Linked DNA regions of Homo sapiens: region 2 is linked to region 1. The links are contacts of gene promoters, found by promoter capture Hi-C in human tissues and cell types (Jung and others, 2019). All regions are on one chromosome and are shown on one strand. Each heading gives the region's core, a stretch centred on a gene start or on the middle of the fragment in contact. The rest is flanking DNA. Distances are from core to core; before and after follow the strand shown.

What was found. The method cuts DNA at HindIII sites, captures the fragments that hold promoters and counts their contacts. A contact is called where the count stands out against the background at its distance.
Region 2: a contact is called between a fragment that was not itself captured here and the fragment with the promoter of CAV3 in region 1, in 1 of the 25 tissues and cell types used here (dorsolateral prefrontal cortex).

What each region holds. Positions count from the first base shown.
Region 1 is chr3:8,732,062-8,735,767 of GRCh38, forward strand. CAV3 (caveolin 3) reads left to right here and starts at 1,741. Exons shown (of 2, transcript NM_033337.3): 1 at 1,741-1,929. The coding sequence starts at 1,816. The HindIII fragment of the contact is 9,052 bases long and covers 1-3,706 here.
Region 2 is chr3:7,111,336-7,115,309 of GRCh38, forward strand. All of the region lies in intron 1 of GRM7 (glutamate metabotropic receptor 7), which reads left to right. Among named protein-coding and RNA genes, the nearest start is that of GRM7-AS2, 220 kb to the left of the region's middle. The HindIII fragment of the contact is 7,713 bases long and covers 1-3,974 here.

The sequences.
Region 1 (3,706 bases), core at 491-2,990:
CCTATGAGGTGGCTTTCGGGCTAGCAGAACAGAAGGATGGGAGTCCAGATGTCTGAAGACATCATGGAGCCACTATAATATTTCTGAACTACTTGTGTTAAGTGAGAAAAAAAGTTCCTACCTTATTCAAGTCACTATTACTTTTGCATCCTTTGTGTTACTAGCCAGGTGTAATTATTGATAAAGCCTAAATCACCTCTGGTTTTCCCCCTCCTACCTCAAACTTCACCCAGCTCCAATCCACCCTCCACCTGGCCACCAGGGAGCTTCCTCACACACAAATCTGATACCGACCCTGTCCTGCTTTGAAGCCTTCAATGGCTTTCCAGCACCCCTAGACAAAATCCACATTCTTTAGTATGACATTTGGGATGCTGCACACCCAGGCCTGAGCTGAGCTGTATCTCCTGCCTCAACCCCAGACACCCTGTGCTCCAGCCACTCCACACTTTTCAACATTCCTGTCTATACCACTCCTCAATATCCACAATCCTGTAACTTGAAGTGTTCTAGGTGCTGAGCTCCTGCTTGTCATTCGATACCTATCTGCAAAGCCACCTCCCACAGGAAGTCTTCCCCGGTGTCCTCAGAGTAAGTTACTGACTCCTATGGACTTCTAAGACCAGCTCTTTGTAAAATATCTCTGATCTGTGGCACTTACCGCACAGTATTATAATCACTTATTGTTTTAATTAGTCTCCCCACCTTGACTGGGAGCACTTCAAGGCGGACAGAGCCTTGTTGGTCTGTTTATCCCCAGCTATTAGCAAATCCTGAATGAAGGAGTGAATAGACAGGTAAATGGAAGCACAGACCCTGACCCCTGAGGATTCAGAGTTGCCATCCTTCATGCTGCTGGAGCCCAGGGGAAGGCTGAGTTAGAAGAGGGCACAGAAAAACCGAGCAGGTATCTAAGAGAGGTGCACCCCACTGATGCATGTGGAGTGTCTGGGACCCAAGAAAATCCTGGAAGCTGTCACTAGGGCAGGGTGAAGGGTAGCACGAACATGGACTTCATGTTCCCCCCACCGGGCATATCCCAGTGCAGGCTCCAGACGGCAGACGAGGGGCAGCCCCACAGCAGCTTCCTCTCCCTGTTTCATCCCCAGCCTGGCCCCACACCACAGTCCATCAACTCCTGCTCCAGGTGGAAACCTCAGAAACCCACAAAGCTCGGACCTGCTCCAGGTCACCAAGCAGCAGGGCCAGGCACTGGCAATCCAACGAGAAGCCCCACTACATCGCATTCCAGCTCCTGAAGCCATTCCCTGGGTAGGAGAGCCCTGATTGTTATTATCATCTCTCCATTTTACAGATGGGGACAGAGTGGCCTAGAGAGGTGAAGTGTGCCAAAGGTCACACAGCCAGCCAGAGGCAGAGGAGGGACTAACCCCACTTCCCTCCACGGGCAGTGCACCCCAAAGGAGCCAAAATGCTGACAGCAGTGGGGCAAATTCCAGGGGCCCCGGAGCGACCGCCGAGTTGGCCACAGCCACACGATGCATAGGAAACGCTAGGCCCTCTGCACCCTCTCCTGAGGCCCAGTGCCCTGAGGCAGCCCCCTTTAAGGAGCGATCGGCCTTCCAGAAGAGCTCCAGTCTTAATTTTAGCTTGGAGGCCTGCCACAGGAGGCTTTAGAGAGAGGCAGGCTGAAGTTATGTGGGACAGCTGTCAGCCGGCATGCTGGGTGGGGCCTATTTAGCTGGCAGGGACATAAGTCTGGGGACACTGAATTGGTCTCTCTGCCCCAAGTATTTTCAGCCCCAGCCGGCCACACAGCTCGGATCTCCTCCTGTGGATCCCCCCAGCTCTGCGATGATGGCAGAAGAGCACACAGATCTCGAGGCCCAGATCGTCAAGGATATCCACTGCAAGGAGATTGACCTGGTGAACCGAGACCCCAAGAACATTAACGAGGACATAGTCAAGGTAGGCTCTGCAGGCCTGCCTCGGCGGGCGGAGAGTGTCAGGTTTGCGAGACGTGGGCGCTTGGCAGGGGAGGGTATCTGCTGCAGACACAGTTTCCCTGAAAAGAGACTTGTTGCTCTGTTGTCTCTGTATCACCCCCCCAACCCCACCCCACCCCCAAAAAAAGGCTTCTAAATCACCGAAGGATCTTTAGCAAAATCAAGAGCAAAAAATTAGCCTCATCTCCATGACCTAAGTGCTAATCAGGGCAGGAGGAGCGAGTCACAAAGAAAATCCCTCCTTACTACTGTGACGCTCCTGCCACTCACTCCTGGCTCTCACCCTGGGAGGAACAGGAACGGGCGGCCAAGTTGGGCTCCTTTCTGTGCCAAGGGGCATTTCTGCGGTCTCTCCAGTGGGTGCAGGGTTAATCCCCAGAGGGCAGCTTCCAGCAGGGCCGGCAGCCCCTCGAGGTACACTCACTCCCCCAGAGCACTGCCCAATATCTGTCCCCAAGGCCGAGGGCCATGCCCAGCCCTCCCCTAGCTACCCCCTCACCCCAGGTCTAGTGGCCAGGACAGGGCAGACGGCACCCGGGACCCTCGAAGAGAAAGCTCGGGGTTGTCTAGCCCTCAGGGAGTCTCTCAGCGTCTGAAGTTGGGCCTCTTCCCTCGCCTCCTGGTGACACTAGCGGCCCTGCTGCCTCCAGGCCCACACCTTCAATCCAACTTCCAGCCAGTACCCAGAGGGATCTTTCTTTTTTCTTTTTGAGACAGTCTCTCTCTGTCCCCAAGGCTGGAGTGCAGTCGCACACTCACGCCTCACTGCAGCCTCAACCTCCCAGGCTCAAGTGATTCTCCCTCCTCCACCTCCTGATTAGCTGGGACCACAGGCGAGTGCCACCATGCCCAGCTAATTTTTGTATTTTTAGTAGAGACTGGGTTTCATTATGTTGACCAAGCTGGTATCAAACTCTTGGGCTCAAGTGATCCTCCTGCCTCCCAAAGTGCTGGGATTACAGGTGCAAGACTCCACAACTGGCTCAGAGGTACCTTTCTAAAGCAGAATTCCTCCAAGAAGGGTCCCCAGCCACCAGCATCTGAGTCACTGGAGGGGCTGTTAAGAGGCCAGTGTCTGAGGCCTCTCAGATCCTACTGAAAGCATTGGAATCTCAGGCCAGTGCTGTCCAATAGGGATACTGTTACCACAAGGAATTTAAAATTTTCTAGCAGCCACATTTTAAAATGCGAAAGCAAACAGGTGAAATTAATGTTCCTGATATTTCTTACTTAACCCTATATATCTAAAATAGTATTATTTCAACATGTAAGCAATATAAAACAATTATCAATGAGCTATTGTACAGTCTTCAAGTTTGAAATCCAGTGTGCTTCCTATACCCACAGTATATTTCAGTTCAGACCCCACATTTTCATCCGAAATGCTTGTTCTGCATTTAGATTTCATAAAATGTACATGTGAAAATCGATTCGCATGCCTGTACTGTTTCAAACATTCTGCAAAAATTTTTCAATAATGAAATCGGGGTTTACATTTTAATTAAAGTTAAACAAAATCTAGAATTCTTCAGTTTCACTAGCCACATTTCAAGCGCTCAAAGCTCCTGGCCACTGGATCAGACAGGCCTGTATTGCGGTCTTTCAGTGGGGCACCTCCCATGCTGGAGAAGCCTAGCCTCTCCACGTGGCTGTCCAAACCCAACACAATCTGGCCCCAACCTGCTTCTTCTGCCTGGTTGGCTCCCACCTGCCAGCCCACCCACCAGAGTACATTCCTG
Region 2 (3,974 bases), core at 1,400-3,899, 1.6 Mb before region 1:
CATTGTTCTTAATGGTATATTGCAGAGGTCCAGATAAGGATTTGTGAGGGCCTGGTACTAGGAGTATGTTACATGTAAGAGGACCAAGTCAAGAAGCATTTAGGAAGTAAAATCAGTAAGTCTTAGTATTTGATTCAAATTATAAAGAGGCAGGAGAATGGAAGAAAGCATCAGGAACCCATTTCTAGCATGAGTCGTTAAGAGATGGTCTTGCCTCCAACTGACTGTTTCTGAGGAGCAGAGGTTCAGCTGAAAGAATAACTTGAGCTGTGACTCAATCTATGATTAAAACATAGGATAATTGGATAGACTCATTATTTGATTATTGCCGTTTGTTTTCAACTGCATTTTCTTCACATTTTATTTTTAACTATTAATTGAATTCTATAGTATGCATGCAGTAAAGTACATGTATCACAGCTTAGCTACCTGGTTGTCTTCATTTTGGGAAAAAATCATTTCTATGTAAACTTAAGATTTGTACATAGCCTCATTTCTTTTTCTCCAAAGTGAACATACCTATGTAACCAACATCTGAATCAAGAAGAAGAACATATTACCAGCACCCCCCCACCCTCAGAGAGTCCCGTTTCAGGGCCTTTTAAAATTAAGCCTGAGATTGACTATCTATGAAAACTGTATTCCTTAGCTGCCCATTATTTTGGCAAAAGGCAATAATTGATGAAGTTGGAATTTAAGTTGGCAGAAGTGTAAAAGGCAGGAGATTTTTCAGAGCTGTTAACACTGCATGTGGCAAAGATCACCTCTCAAAGAAAGCAGGGGTTATGCAGTGAATTCATGAATTCCTAGCAGAAGGGACCTGGTTAGCTATTTTTATGAGAGAGGGTATGTTTTTCCTTAATAATTAGTCTATTGAGTTTTCATATTTTATGATTTTTTTTTTTTTGAGACAGAGTCTCACTCTGTCACCCAGGCTGGAGTGCAGTGGCACGATCTCAGCTCACTACAACCTCTACCTCCCAGGTTCAAGCGATTCTCCTGCCTCAGCCTCCTGAGTAGCTGGGACTACAGGCATGTGCTACCATGCTTCTTTAATTTTTTGTATTTTTAGTAGAGATGGGGTTTCACCATGTTAGCCAGGATGGTCTCGATCTCCTGACCTTGTGATCTGCCTGCTTCGGCCTCCCAAAGTGCTGGGATTACAGGCATGAGCCACTGCACCTGGCCTTATGATTCTTAAAATGCATTTGCTTCACATTTTTATATCTCTGACTTTGAGAATTATCTTGCAATGGATGCTGATCAGCCTGGTGTGCCATCAGCCTGGTGTGTGGCAGCCCCCACTCGGTTGTTTTTGTCCTCACTTGGCTTGTGCTCCATCATGGCCATGACTGTCATCACTTCAATTAAGCCATGTGCATGACTAGTGGTAAATGTATTGATGCCATGTGCCAAGCTGTGCTACCAGCTTCAGGAGAAATTTTCCTATCCCTCAGAATAGAAGAAAGGAATTTCAAGGTCATGAGTGACTGGTATGACTGATTCAGCAGGTGTATTGGCCACACATCAAACAATAGGACTACCACTTCCTGTTAACTTTGAACAGAAGCTCCTTCCCTTTCAGCAGCCTGTGACTCCATAGAGAAAGAAACAAAACTGAGTTGGTTCAGGTTAGACAGCACTAGCATCAAACTTTTCAAAATGAGCTTAGATGAAAACTCTGTAGGAAAAGTAATGAAACATAGACTGATGATTCCAAGGGAAAAAAAGTGATTGAGAAGAGCTGGGTCCTGATGAACTTTTAGTAATACCATTACTGCTTTTTTTTAACACTATAAAACACACTTAAAAATCATTGTGTACTTGAAATGTTTCTTTCAAAATACGTGAAAAAAATTAAAAAATATGTACGAAACAATTCTAAGTGGTAAGAATGCATTGTCATAGTTTAATTATAGTGACTTTATTTTATTTTTATTAATACTTTGTTTTAGAGCAGGTATAGATTCACAGAAAAATTGAGCAGAAAGTACAGAGAATTCTCATATTTCCCCTGCTTCAACAAATACACAGCCTCGTTCCTTATCTACATCCTGCACCTCAGTGGTACATTTGTTCCAATGTATTATTTTATCTAGAAATAATATTTCAACATATTGCCCAGGCTGGTCTCCAACTCCAAGGCTCAATTAATTCTCTTGCCTGAGCATCCCAAAGTGCTGGGATTACAGGCATGACTCTTGATGAACTTACAATGACACATCACCATCACCCAGAGTTCATAAGTTTATTTTAGGGTTCACTCTTGGTGTTGCCCATTCTATGGCTTTGGACAAATTTATATTTGCAGTGTTTTTTATTTTTGTATTTTGTCATTGTTGTTCTTCATGGCATATTAAATAATGGTGCATCTTATTAGTAGATGGTATAAGATGTGATGAAATATGGTATCTGTCTCCACTCCCAACTCATGAGCCATCACCAGAATTCTGGTGCAAACCCTCAACGGTATGGTTTTCTATGGCCGAAGTGAAAATAGCAATTGTCATTTGAGTATTTAGTTTGCGTCTGGTATACTGACAAGTGATTTACTTGTATTATTTTTAGTGGTAACATCTCTATAAATTATCTCATTTTGTAGATTAAGTAAGTTTTCAAAGATGACACGGGACTTCAATGACAGAGTTAGATTTTGAACAGATATTTATCTGATTTCAATTGCCCTAAATACAGCTACTATGCATATTGCCTCTCAGATAATAGATACTGAAATTTTTAAAATCAGCTGTGTCATGGCAAGTAAAGATGTGTGACTTAATGGAGATAAAGCTTAACATTTTGGGGAAAACGTGTAAGTTCAATGACTTTTATAATCCTTGGTTTACTCTAGTGCAGATATGAACAATAGCACATACTTACTAGAAGTGGAACTTGCTGTCAGGCTACTTAACATTGTAATGGTTTAATGAGCAATGAGGTTATTACACAAATGCAACCCATTCTGAAGATGCTCAGTCCCTTCACATACCTTACTTCAAAACCTACTTTGTTAAAAATAATAATCATTATAAAATACAGTCAACTTTCTACTAAATCTATTCTCCAATTATTTAACTCTGGTTTATACATTCACATCTGGTGACCCCCTGATAAACTGAGGGGCTTTGTTCTAAAACAACAGAATACATTTTTTAATACATAAAATTTACTAAGGATTAAACATGCACATCTGGAAAATGCAGTCTCCTCTTTCCTCTAATACAGCCACAAAAAGGATCAATAAAGCTAATTAATCTGCTGCTTTGAAATAAACGCACAGGTCCAATTGAGAAAACTTTTTTCCTCTGCGTACCTGGTTCTGTTGAAATCACCACAGAACTTGTGTTTCTTGGCACTATCCAAACGCTGCACTTTTGGAAAGCCTGGAGTACATAGCTAATTAGAATAAATTGGGAGTATAACATAGCAGGTCTGGGGTAAAAGTCAGAAACAGGTTTGGACCAAGTTTTTCCAGTTTCTAATGACCAGTTTCGTGGTGTTTTCCTTTCATCGCTGATCTCAGGAACAATTGGAGATCATCACTGCTGCCCACCCCATGTTTTGCCCTCTCCTGGTGGCAGCATGGCATGCTATCACCCCTTGCTCCTCTGCAAATGGCCCTCATGAGAAGGAGCTCGGATGAGGTAGTGAAAGGCACTATTTGACAAAAACTTGCTGTGTGCCAATCACTGAATGAAGATGATTTTCATGTGTCATTTTTGCTATTCTGTGATTCAGTCTTTTCACTTCAATCCATAGATATGTATTCTAAGTCACAGAGAAACTATGCCACTTATCTAAGGTCAGATGGCTAAATACTTGGGTAAGAGATGACTTAAATCTAATGATTTTAGATTCCAGAGCACATGATCTGAACCATAATGCTATATTTTAATAAGTACAAACTTTAGGACAATGTTGGTTCTCCATCTGCTTAAAGTCACTCTGCTTCTGTGTGCAATTTTCTTAGCTTC